Regions from separate parts of the Homo sapiens genome. Here regions 2 and 3 are each linked to region 1. Evidence: promoter capture Hi-C in 16 types of primary human blood cells and fetal thymus (Javierre and others, 2016). All regions are on one chromosome and are shown on one strand. Each heading gives the region's core, a stretch centred on a gene start or on the middle of the fragment in contact. The rest is flanking DNA. Distances are from core to core; before and after follow the strand shown.

Region 1 (4,017 bases), core at 977-3,476:
TGCCTCTAGGGAAGACATTTTTGCTGGAGGCAGGGCTATGAGCACAAGTGGGGCGCCCTGTGGGTGTGCAACCGCGGTCGGGGAGCACAGGCTTCCGAAGAGAAACTGAGCTCTAAGTGCCACTCAGGCCGGACGAGTTCCAGAGGGGGACAGCGCCCTCCTCGAAAAGCCTTGGTTTCTCCCCGCCCCCTCTTGTGACAGAAAGTTGGCAAGGATGCCCCGTAGGAGTGCGAGCCGCTCCCCTCCTCCGAAAAGCCGCGGGCTTCCGCTGCTCCGGGCATCACCACCAACAGCTTCCCACTCCCACCCCTGGGACTAGGACAGGGGACTTCACCCTCCTCCTTCCTTCCGGAGGAGCCCGCGGCTTCGCCTGAGGCCTCGCGGGCCCAACTTCTCCCCACCGCTAGGGTCACGCCGGGTCCCAGGGGCCTCTTTCAAGTTTGAAAGCTCTGTGGGGGCACGGAGAGCCCACAGTAAGGATGGGTGGGCGCCTCTGCTCCCGGGCAGGCTCAGCTGTCATCCCGTCTCGCCTTGGCCCTCACCTACAGGGCCTGACCCCGGGCCAGCCCAGCTAGGCAAGGCCTCCTCGCTTCCGAGACCCCCCAGCCCCCGGGTGCAGTCCCCAGCATCGGCTGCCCCCGCCCCCCGCGCGCCCTCTGACGCAAACGCACGCCCCTGCCCCGCACGGAGGAAAGCGCTCTTGTTGGTTTTAATTGAGCCTCTTCCTTTCAACACACCCCCTCTGTCCCCACCCCTGGGAGGCGACCCCCTCCCCGCCCCCAGCCGGCTGGCAGCGGCGCAGGGAGTCTGGCTCGGCTGCTAGGCTGCGAATCCCGGTGCTCTCTCGCCGCCGCCGCAGGTTGTCTGCTCGGGAGAGCGGCTCGATGTCCCTTTTAATCCGCTGACACTATCGCCCACATCAGACAGGCAGCCATCGATCGCGTTACATTAGGGGATGGCGTTACAAACGGCGTCCGCAGGTGGGCGGCTGCAGCCAAGCTCGCCAGGTTCAGGCCGTAACCAGGCAAGGCGCGGGCACAAGGGCCAGCCGGGCCGGACTCTGCAGCCGGCTCCACCGCGGGTCGCGCTCGGCACCAGCAGGAACAGCCGGGCCGGTGTTAAACGTGCGGGTCCCCGTCCTCCGCCCGGGCATCCGTTTCCCGCCTAGGAGAGAGAGGGAATAGCGGGTGGGGGTGGGAGCAGCCTGTTTTGAATGTGGATTGCTGCTCGCCTGGCACGATCCTCCCCTCCAAGGAGGCGCGGCGGCCGCGATCCTCGCCTTAGCGCTACGGCGAGACAGAGGCCGAGCGAGGGCAACTCCCGAGCAGGCCCCGAAGAAAGTTCTCCTCGTCCCGCCCTGGCTGCCTAGACTCTGCTCTCGGCCTGCGGAGGCCGTGCGAGCCAAGACTGCCTCCCGGCCCTGCCCGTTACCAACCCCAAGTTCAAGAGAAACGACAACCATTATGTTACTTGCCTGGTGAGGCAGGATTTGGCCGAGTCTCGTTTCTGGTGCCCACGACGCACGGTCCAGGGTCCGAGGGCGGCTGGGCCGGCGGACTGGGCATCCAGTGTGCCTGCGGTGCCCTGGCGCTCGCTGTCGCTGGTCTCCCACTCCCTTCGTCTCTCTCCGCGTTCTCCTTCCCTCGCCCTATCTCCCTCTCTCCGCCTGCTGCCTCTGCCCTCGACTCCCTGCCTCTGACTGTATGGGGAGTACGATTTAGAATCTGTACATAGAAAGGTTTTCTTTTCTTTCTTTTCTTTTGGTCTATTTTAATCGTGTTCGTTTCACCTTTTAACTGACCAGAAGACGGGAGCGCGTTTGCGCGTTTATTTGGGCATAGGGACGAGGGCAAGGAGCCCCTGCTACCCCCAGTCGCCTCCTCGCCATCAGCTGCGTACAATGGGCCACCGCTCGCGGAGTGCATTGACAGTTCTCCATTATTCGAGCTGGAGGGGCTGTGGGGCAGGCACGGGAAAACCTTTTATTCTGCTCTTTAAAATCATCGCTCGTCACTAAGCGGTCGCCGACTCCCGACTTGTAGGCTGGAGAGACCAGGAAGCGCAAAACGTCCCCCAAACACGCAGTGCTTCCCAAACCCCTCCCTGGTGAGACTTAAAGTGAGAACGAGTATTAAAAAACAAACCCTACCTCTGTCAATACAGCGTGGCCATTTACTTCCACCTTTACCTGAGGGCGTGTTGGCGCTAGGAATGCTCGAGCTGAGACAAACTTTTACGCCCTCGCGAGTCGAGGGGCGGGCGGGCGAGCGCGGCTCCCACCCCCGGCGGCGGCAGCGGCGGCTTTGTCACTCCGCGCGGCTCCGCGCCCGCCTGAGCCTGCCTAGGGGAGCGATCTCAAAACGAGGGGGGTGCGAGTATGCGATTGGAGAATATGTAACTAATAGAAGTATCATTTTCCCCCAGTACGATCTTTCAAGGAAAAAAAAATCCATTGAAAGAATTTTCAAAGTGCTGTCTTCGTTTGGAGAAAAGGCACAGGCTGCCTGCGGGGAGGGGAGGAGGGACTCGGCTGTGTGCCGCCCGGGAGCGGCTCCCGTCCGCTAGGTGGCAGCCGGAGCCAGCGATTCCTGCAAGCCCCGCCGCGGGACCCGCTCCTCCCGCCTGCCCCTCCTCCCGCGACCAATCACCTTCAGGATTCAGGAATCGGGGTCTCGGTCTCTCTCTCTCTCTCTCTCTCTCTCTCTCTCTCTCTCTCTCTCTCTCTCTCTCTCTCTCTCTCTCCCCCTCTCCCTCTCCCTCTCCCTCTCCTCTCTCCCTCTCCCTCTCCCTCTCCCTCTCCCTCTCCCTCTCCCTCTCCCTCTCGTCTCTCTCTCTCTCTCTCTCCTCTCTCTCTCTCTCTCCTCTCTCTCTCTCTCCTCTCTCCTCTCTCTCTCGGTCTCTCTCTCTCTCTCTGGGTCTCTCTCTCTCTCTCTCTCTCTGGGTCTCTCTCTCTCTCCTCTCTCTCTGGGTCTCTCTCTCTCTCCTCTCTCTCTCTCTCCCCTCTCCTCTCTTCTCTCTCTCTCTCTCTCAATATCTCGCGCGCTCTCCTCTCTCCTCTCTTTCCTTTCCTCTCCTCTCTCTCTGTCTCTCTCTCTCCTCCTCCCCCTTTTCTCTCTCCCTCTCCGCCTCCCCCCCTCTCCATCTTCTCGTTTGTTTGCTCTTTTCCCGGGACTGACTTGGCCACACTAATCTCCCCCCACCCTGCAACAATATGGGGACTTACTACTGTTTTATTAATAATGATTGAAGCATTGTTGGAGTTTGGAACAGCCAGGTGATAAAAAAAAAAAAAAAGAAGAAGGAAAAATTGGATTGATTGGAAAGTTTATTTTTAAAATCATCTTTGGGATAAATAGGAACCCTTGATTCCGATCGAATTTGTGGCAATAGCTGCAAATTCCAGGAGTGTGCTTTGTCATCATTAAACCTTTTAAACCAAGGTATACTTTGGATTAAAAAATAGGGAGATCCTACCCTGTTTCTACTTGTTTCTAAAAAGGATATAAAATGAGCAGAATCCAGACTTGGATTGTGCTTATATGTGAGAGAAGAAAACAATCCAAATCCAGTATATTTCACAAATCATTAAAATGGTGGGGGTTTCATTCCCATTAAAAATTTTTCCAAACATTTTCAATGACACTCTCTTCACGCTCATAAAATCTAATTTTAAAAACTTTTCAGAAGAAATCAAAATAATTTCCCTCTAATTCTCCTTTTGCCCATCGCTAGGCGTTCTCCCCCTCGTCATCCCTTCCCCCTCTGGGGTGTGAGCGTAAGTGTGTGTGTGTGTATGTGTGTGTGTGTGTGACCATAGACGACCCATACTAATCAGGTCTCAGAGTAAATAGCAGCGCAGGGCGATCTCAATGTAAATTGCGCTTGTCAGAAACACACCCCCCTCCCTCACTTTCTCTCCTCCTCCCCACACCATCCCAGTCTGTAGGTAGCTAAGCGGGGGGGGGAGAAAGAAAGCAAAAGAGGAGGGGGGAGGGGCTCTCCAACCAATGGCGTGCA
Region 2 (4,017 bases), core at 686-3,185, 2.1 Mb before region 1:
TTCTGTTCCTTTTTATATAGACATGCTTCTACTTATGTCAAGAAGAGGATTTTTAATTTCCCTCTTCTTGAATCTGGGCTGACCTCAGTGACTTTCTTGACCAATAAAATGTGGTGAAAATTATGTTATGGGATGTCTGAGGATAGGTGATAAGAAGCTACACAGATCCTGTCTTGTTTGTTGCAATGCTTACTTATGAGACATTTCCATTCAGAAAGTTGCTGTTGCTGTGAGAAGCTCCAGCCACAAAGAGAGGCCACTTGTAGGTATTCCAGTTGAATGCTGCAACTGGGCTTCCCACCAGGAGCCAGCATTAATTGCTATCTTGGATGAGTGGCTCAGTTAAGCCTCAGCCATTGTCTTCCGTTGTATGAGACACTTCAAATAAGAGCTACTCAGCAGAGCCCAGTCAATCCACAGAGCCATGAGAGACTATACATTGCTTTAAGCTACTAGAATTTGCAACGTTTTGTAATGCATAGATAACCAAAACAATAACCATTTATTCCCACTTTGCACACTTCTTTCTCTCCACATGGAATACCTTGCTTTGATACTTTTCTAGCATTCCACTAGCAAATCTTTCATCTGGCCTCTATTTCAAAATTCCAAATAGAATTCACCCTCTCTTGAGTAACTTTCCTTGTTTTCGACTCTTCCCTCAACACGTGGGATTTAATTTGTCTCATGATAATTTTTACTTAGTGACACTGTGTTTCAAAAGTTTTTGATTCATTCTCTAGGGTATATGCTCTGCTTTTTTTCATATAGTTGTAACATTTTTAACACAGATTAAATTTCTTATACTCCCTCCACCCCCAACCACAGCTCCAAGTTCATACTCATCACTTCAAAATTTTAACCAACTAAACCTCTTCTAGAGTGCTTCTTGGACTTGAAGGATAAGTTTTACACTCTTTGATGGTCTAGCCACCATACTGAACTTGTTTAACATGAACTATTGATCACCACATGAAACTTTCTGTTCTATACCACATTAATGGTTTGAAAGTCTGTGGGCTGTTTAGTTATCTTGAGTTGCTATTGACCCGTTTTCTTATTTTTCCCTGTTGCTGCCTTGACTTGGCCTATTACACCTCAGCCCTGTGGCCCTGGTAGTTTTTTCCAGTGTGCCCAAATTATTTCTGGCTTTAAGCCTTTGCCTTTGGGTTCCTTCAACCCCAAATTCTTTGCCCAGGCTCTCTCATATCCTCCTGCTCTCAACTGAAATGTCACATCCTTCAAGCCCTTTTCTGGCCATCTACTCCACAGTAGCTCCAAATTCCATGCTTGTCTCTCCTATTATTTGACTTTATTTTTTCATGACATTCATAGTTACATGGAATGATCTACGTAATTATGTTTTTTTTGTTGTTGTTGTTGACTATAGATAGGCCTGTTTGGGGTACATAGCATGAGTGAGAAATTTTGGTGTTTGGCCACTGGGATTTTGTGGTTGTTTACTCCCTGGCTCCCCTTACTCTTGTTTGTCCTCTCACTAGTATGTGAAGTTCAAGAAAAAAAAAAAACAACTTTTGTTATTTCAGGTATTGTCACATTCTCAAAAGAATGGCAGAGTGCCATACTATTAGGCATATTGTAGGTATTCAGCAAATATTCATTAGATGAATGATCAAACTCCCATATTCCTCTTGCCACCAGCATAGGGTGGGCCTTAGGAAACCAGCTGAAGGTAGGAGCAGTTGATTCTGCACTCTGGGAACTACAATGACATCTTCTCAATGGTTTGGGCCAGGGGCACCAGTAACAGTGGGTTTTAATAAGTTTGAAAGAACCTCAACCCATTCTGTTAAGGTTAAATAAGAAATATTAGATTCTTAAATTTCTTATTAATATTTTTGTTCTGAAAAATCTGTCTTTATGCTTCAACAAGCCAGAACTGGGATGACTGTGCCAAAACAACAATTTTTATTTTAAATTATTTTTATGACTCTGCCAATTGGTAAAAGGTTTCAATTTTAAAGATCAGTGCTTTTATTAAACTATGGGCAGAATATTTGCCTTCTTCTCACTTAAATATACACAGTCACTTAAATAATGGAATCAGTTGGTCATCTCATCTAGAGTCATATAGGTAATTTTCTCTCTCACTGTGTAAGATGACAGATTCCAGAGCTAATATATGGTTTTCAAGATTCTACAAAGAGAGTTGCCTGGAATAAACGTGTACATTTTTTTTTCTTTGAAAACCTGCAAGTTTAAGATGTTTAGCGTTCATCCATATCCTGTTTTTTCCTTCCAGGCAAATGGGGGGATTATGTTTCTTCCCCAACTTCCAGTTGGAGAGGAACCTTAAAACTAGTTCTGGCCAATGGGCTCTGAGCACAAGAGACATGTGCTCAGGTGTGTAATTTCATCATTTAATCACTAGCATGAGACCCTGCCTTCTCTTTCCTCCTTCTGTGATGTGGAAATTATTACTACCCAGCTCTCTATGGTGTCTCAGGAGGCTGCAGATTCCAGATGTGCAGACATAGGAGAGCAGAGTCTTCACAAACCGGGTTCCCTAAGTGACTCCCTGGTGGCCTATGTGGAGTCTGTAGCATGGGTCCCTCAGGCACTGCATCCCTAAGTGACTGTGGACCTCTTTGGGGTACATAGTATAAGTGAGAAATTATGGCATTGGCCATTGAGATTTGGTGGTTGGTTGTTATTGCACCATAGTCAATTCTAAATGTATAACATAGTTCAGGAATGAGATCTGAGGTTGATTTTTACTAGCTTTTTTCTAGTAGAAAAGATTTATAAATATTTGATAATCACTTTAAATTGCCTTTCAAATTACTTTTTTAAAGAAGAAATTTCTACAATGTGTATCCGAATTTAATGAAGGAGAATAGTTTGTGTGTTCCTGATTTTTCTTGATAGCATTGAAGAATATGTGGACACAGAGGAAAAAGCTCTAGGACTTCTGTGGTTTTAATTCACAAAATCATCTTTTATTTTTTCTTAAATTAGCTTCAGCTACTAGCACTTAAGATATTTCTCAGCTTTCATTTTTGTCATAGAAATTAGCATTTTTATTACCACAAATTATTCTTGTTTGCTAATTCCAAATATGTCCAAAAGCAAGAACAGCCTCCTGAGCTGTTAGACTTTGGAAGAGAATAGTAAATCAACTGGTGGATAGGACCATATATCATATTAAACACGGGAATTCACCACAAAATCATTACACTAAAAAGCGACAATTTTGATTGATTAAAATGGTATGGGCTGGAGAGTGTTAAATCACTGTGAGTAATATGACATTATAATTTTACATATCATATTTCTGCCAAGACAATGATGGTAAAAGGCATTGTCATCAGATGATAACAGACAATAAGAAGAATCCTGATGTTAGATTTATTACCGGGTTTAGATTTAGAAAGAAGTAATTCTTGTCCTGTTCCACTTATCAAATGACTGTAAATTCAGTGATGATGTAAAATTCTAAGGCAGAGCCACTTATAGATTTGACAAAGTGCCAGTTATAAACTATTTATTGTTCTCAGTGGTTCTGCCTTACACACTTAAATATTTATCAGAAACATAAGCCCCTCTGATAAATGTTTTGGATCTTTGTGGCTAATTTTTTTTTACATTTAGATTTTTCATCAGAAACAAAATCTGTATTTTTATTGTGTTAATAACACTGAATTCATAATTTGAAAGGATAATATATGAGTTTTAAAATTTGACTCCTTGTAACTTCTGACTTTAAGTGTGAAACTTTTGGAATAGTTCTTTATCCATGGGAGCATGCAGTCTTTGCTTGGTAGCATAGCCAATCGGACCAGGGATCAGCCTGTGAGGTAAAGAAAGGCAACTATGTGCTGGCCACTAATCCTGGGGTGGCAGGTTACGGCGTGAGAACCCTGGGACATAGCAGTGTTTTTTATATAGGAGACAGGAGACTGGAGCTAGCTACATCTTTTTATTAAGGCATTCAAATGTGAGACATATAAATGGTATAGCAACTCCAAAGCACAGAGAATCACAGAAAGAAAGCAA
Region 3 (4,017 bases), core at 850-3,349, 2.1 Mb before region 1:
CAAAAGAAAGTGAAAGTAATACTTCATTTTAATGTTTAATGCTATTTCTCCTACAGGTCATCAAAATTAAGTTAAAGCAATAGATTTTAGAGAGTACAAACAGAAGTTCTAGATTCAGAATTGATTTATTTTGTTTTATTGCCATTTAACTATTTAACTTTTTTTAAAAGTGGAGATGATAAAAATAACTCTGAAAGAATATAGCATAAACCTTAGCATTTATTCAAAAAAGTGTGTGGCTAGAAATTATACATATATGGACATGATTGATATATTTCATTTTTATCATAGAAATATAGCAATCCATTTAATACATTTTAATCTAGTTATTTTGGATATGAAACATTGGAAATTAAATATTACTTAAATTCATATAAAGTCAGATCGTTGTTATATTGATAGTTATTTCATCTAATACTTTTTTCTTTGAATTAAAAAAATTCCAAAATAATATCCCACTGGTGCCAGATAAAAAATCTAGAGATATATAAAGGAAAAGATAATGATTTCCACATATGTGTCTATTTCTATCTCCCCTGAAATCAACTACATTAATAGTACAATGTGTGATATTCTGCATCTTTCTTCATGTCTATGCCAATGTATCAAACATGTATACACTTACTTAGGTTTTTAAATAAGAAAATCTTACTTTACATATTGTCATCACTTTGCTTTTTTCGTAGACTTCCAGATTAATAAAGTTAAAACATTCCCTTTAGTGGCTGGTTTATATTGCATGGAATGGACATACTACAGTATGTTTAATCATATTCCTATAGATGATATTCAAGCTGATTTCAGTTTTCTTTTAACACAAAAGTATCCTTGTACCTATATTCCTATGTTCTGATGCTCGCATTGTTGTCCAATATGTTTCCTAAAGTGGAATTTCTGCTTTTAAGAATATTTGAAATTTCACTTTTAATAGGTATTACTAGATTATTTTCTAAGAGCTTTTTAGCATTTTATATGGCCTCCATTGCATAGAAAGTACTAGTTTTTCTACATTCTTCGCAGCATGCATTAATATTTTTAACTTTGCCATTTTGACAGGTGGCATCACATGTTTTTTAAATTTTAATTTCCCGACTATTAGTGAGATTATACACCATTTCATTTGTTTGTTTATAGTTGGAATATGTGCTTCCTAAAATTGCCCACTTTTGTATTGGCTCTTTTTCATTTATCAGTTTGTACGACTGCTTTCTACTCTCTCAGGCTAGTAATAAGTTGTGCACATGTACCCTAGAAATTAAAGTATAATTATATATATATACACACACACATATATATACACACACACACACACATATATATATACACATATATATGTATATACATATATATATAAACTCAGGAAAAAAAAAGACTTGGCCAACTCTCACTCTTCTCTTACTTGTTGGGAAGAAGATTCTCTGGTCTGAGATTTTTTAGGGTCCAAAGTTAGTCCTCTCATCACAGAGACTGGGAGCAATTTAGTTTTGTCAAGCAGCTAGCTGTCTTCTAGGACAACTGGGGCCAGTGGGACTGTGCTGCTGGCCCAAGGACTCCACATAGCATGTGCCTAGGAGGAATTTTCTCTCACTGTTCAGTGGATGAATGGATTCTGTTGACTTTTGCTAACTGTACTCTGTAGAAAAGCCAACAAATTTGAGATCTCTGCCTTGGAGGAGAAGCTGTTCCTTTTCTTTGTAATTTTTCCCTTGACTGTCATCTGCCTTTTAGAAGGGAGTTTCGATCATGGTCTCCTTGGAGATGTGGATAGAAGTAGGGATCTCAGAGACATCCCCTAGTCTCTGCCAGTATGCTTGCAGTGGTTGTTGAATTACTCCAGAGGGACTGTAGAAGGCAAGTGTGACAAAGATATTTGCTGACACTACTTAGATTTTCTGTGTTCAGATTTTAAATTACAGATTTACTTGACTTATAAGGAGAAGTTTTTGAATTTGGGCTTTCAAAATTGTTGTTGAAATGCTTCTCACTTTGGAATTGTCTAACTAATAAAGTTGTGCAGCCAATATAGTGTAGCAATTAATAATTAGAATTTTGAAAAGAAAGAAATTTAAGATCCTAGTGATTTTGCTTGTTAACAGGGCGTCATTTCTTTATAGAATAAACATCATTATTCTTACATTGTAGGATCATTTTTGAAATTGGGAGTTAAATTTTAAGAAGTTATCTAAGATGCTTAGCAGAATGTCTGATGCATTGTAAAGACCTACTATATAAGAGCTTTAAAAGAATGTTTAAAATTAAACCTGTAAGTGAACATTAATATTAAATTAATTTTCTGGTTCTGGTAAGTCTAACTACTGTGATTTCCCTTTACTTAGCAGTTTTCACCATTGCTATTCTAACAAACATCTCTCCATGTAATTTCTTTACATGTATCAAGGTTTTTCAAGCAGTTTATTCTTTTTCCAACTCTGCAAAAGGGACAGGTTTCCCTTACAATTTTAGAGTTTTCACTTAAATTGCATTAAATATAAAATGCACATTTGCTATGGTCTCTGTGGTAATCAATATTTTACTTATTTGATTTTTTTGAGAGAATCCCAATCATAGTTTTTGAAACTATTTTTAATAGATTAAAATTGGTTTAATAAAAGTAATGTCAGTAACAGACAACTCACTGAATGGAACAATCATAAATGTTTTCCCTCTCCTTTCGTAAAGGTTTCAGGTAAACCTTGAGTTTAAAGTAAAGACTTAAGCAGCCTTAGGCTCTGCAAATAACAGCTCTAGCAACAAATCAAAGAATGATGTTTATGTTCTTCCATAGAAAGATCGTTACCAATTGATCTTTTCAGCAAAACCTACACACGCGAGTAGCTGTAGAATAATTGCAGTAGAATCAGTATACCTTTTGAAAGTGACCAACAATGTTATTTGATGCGATAAACCATTTGAAGGCATTCTATCTGGAACACATGGAAATATTGAACTTTATTTTGATTATGTATTGGTAAAAACTCATGTTTTTTTCTTGAAGTTTAATTATTGTGTTTAATTGTGTATTTCATGGTGAAATGTACCAGTAATGACTATCCATGATTCAAGTAAAAGGTAGTTGATCTTAGAGCTTTTAGACAAAAAGGCTTGCATTTACATCCATTCAATGAGCATTCTTTAAGCACTTCCTGTGCAATAGTTCCTGTGCTAGGTTCTGGGGATGCAATGATGGAAGACAGAAATGGTCATGGTCCTTGTGAAGTCACAGCTTAGTGGAGGCACCATGTGTTAAACAGATAGTTATAAGAGTAATAAATTACAGTTGTGGTAAATGCCATGAAGGGAAAGTATAGACAGAAGGAGAATCAGGGAGACCACTACATGGTTGCCTTAATATTCAGATCTCGCGCAATAGAATTCACTGTTATTAACGTATCACCACATTTTACAGTAGATGTCTTGAACTTATTCCTCCTTTCTAACTGAAATTTTGTGTCCTTTGACCAACGTCTCCCTGCTACAGCCCCCATCCCCTAGCGATCATCATCCTACTATTTGCTGCTATGAGTTCAACTCTTTTAGATTCCACATATAAGTGAGATCATGTGATATCTTTCTTTCTGTGTCTGTCGTATTTCACTTAGCTTAATGGCCTCCAGGTTCATCCATGTTGTTGCAAATGACAGGTTTTTCTTTTTTTAAGGCTGAATAGTAGTCCGTTGTATACATATACCACATTTTTGTTATCCATTCATCTGTTGATTAAGTTGATTCTATATCTTGATTATTGTGAATAATGCTGCAATGAGCTCAGGAGTGCAAATATCTATTCCAGATCCTGATTTCAATTCTTTTGGATAAATACCCAGAGGTAGAACTCTTTGATCACATGCTATTTTTTTTTATTTTTATGGAAACCCCATACTGTTTTCCATAATGGATATACTAATTTACACTTCCACAAAGTGTACAAATATTCCCTTTTCTCTACATACTTGTCAACACTTATCTTTTGTCTTTTTTATAATATCCATCCTGGTGTAAGGTGATAGCTCATTGTAG

What was found. The method cuts DNA at HindIII sites, captures the fragments that hold promoters and counts their contacts. A CHiCAGO score of 5 or more calls a contact.
Region 2: a fragment that was not itself captured here is called in contact with the fragment with the promoter of NR2F1-AS1 in region 1 in 3 of 17 cell types (naive CD8 T cells, M0 macrophages and M1 macrophages); the score reaches 10.0 in naive CD8 T cells.
Region 3: a fragment that was not itself captured here is called in contact with the fragment with the promoter of NR2F1-AS1 in region 1 in 3 of 17 cell types (M2 macrophages, naive CD8 T cells and total CD4 T cells); the score reaches 7.6 in M2 macrophages.

The regions. Positions count from the first base shown.
Region 1 is chr5:93,578,993-93,583,009 of GRCh38, forward strand. NR2F1-AS1 (NR2F1 regulatory antisense RNA 1) reads right to left here and starts at 2,227. Exons shown (of 8, transcript NR_186187.1): 1 at 2,150-2,227. RefSeq lists an enhancer at 2,403-2,502 and a silencer at 2,623-2,672. The HindIII fragment of the contact is 7,751 bases long and covers 1-4,017 here.
Region 2 is chr5:91,487,290-91,491,306 of GRCh38, forward strand. No RefSeq gene overlaps it. Among named protein-coding and RNA genes, the nearest start is that of ARRDC3, 110 kb to the left of the region's middle. RefSeq lists an enhancer at 52-599. The HindIII fragment of the contact is 5,127 bases long and covers 1-4,017 here.
Region 3 is chr5:91,510,029-91,514,045 of GRCh38, forward strand. No RefSeq gene overlaps it. Among named protein-coding and RNA genes, the nearest start is that of ARRDC3, 130 kb to the left of the region's middle. The HindIII fragment of the contact is 4,377 bases long and covers 1-4,017 here.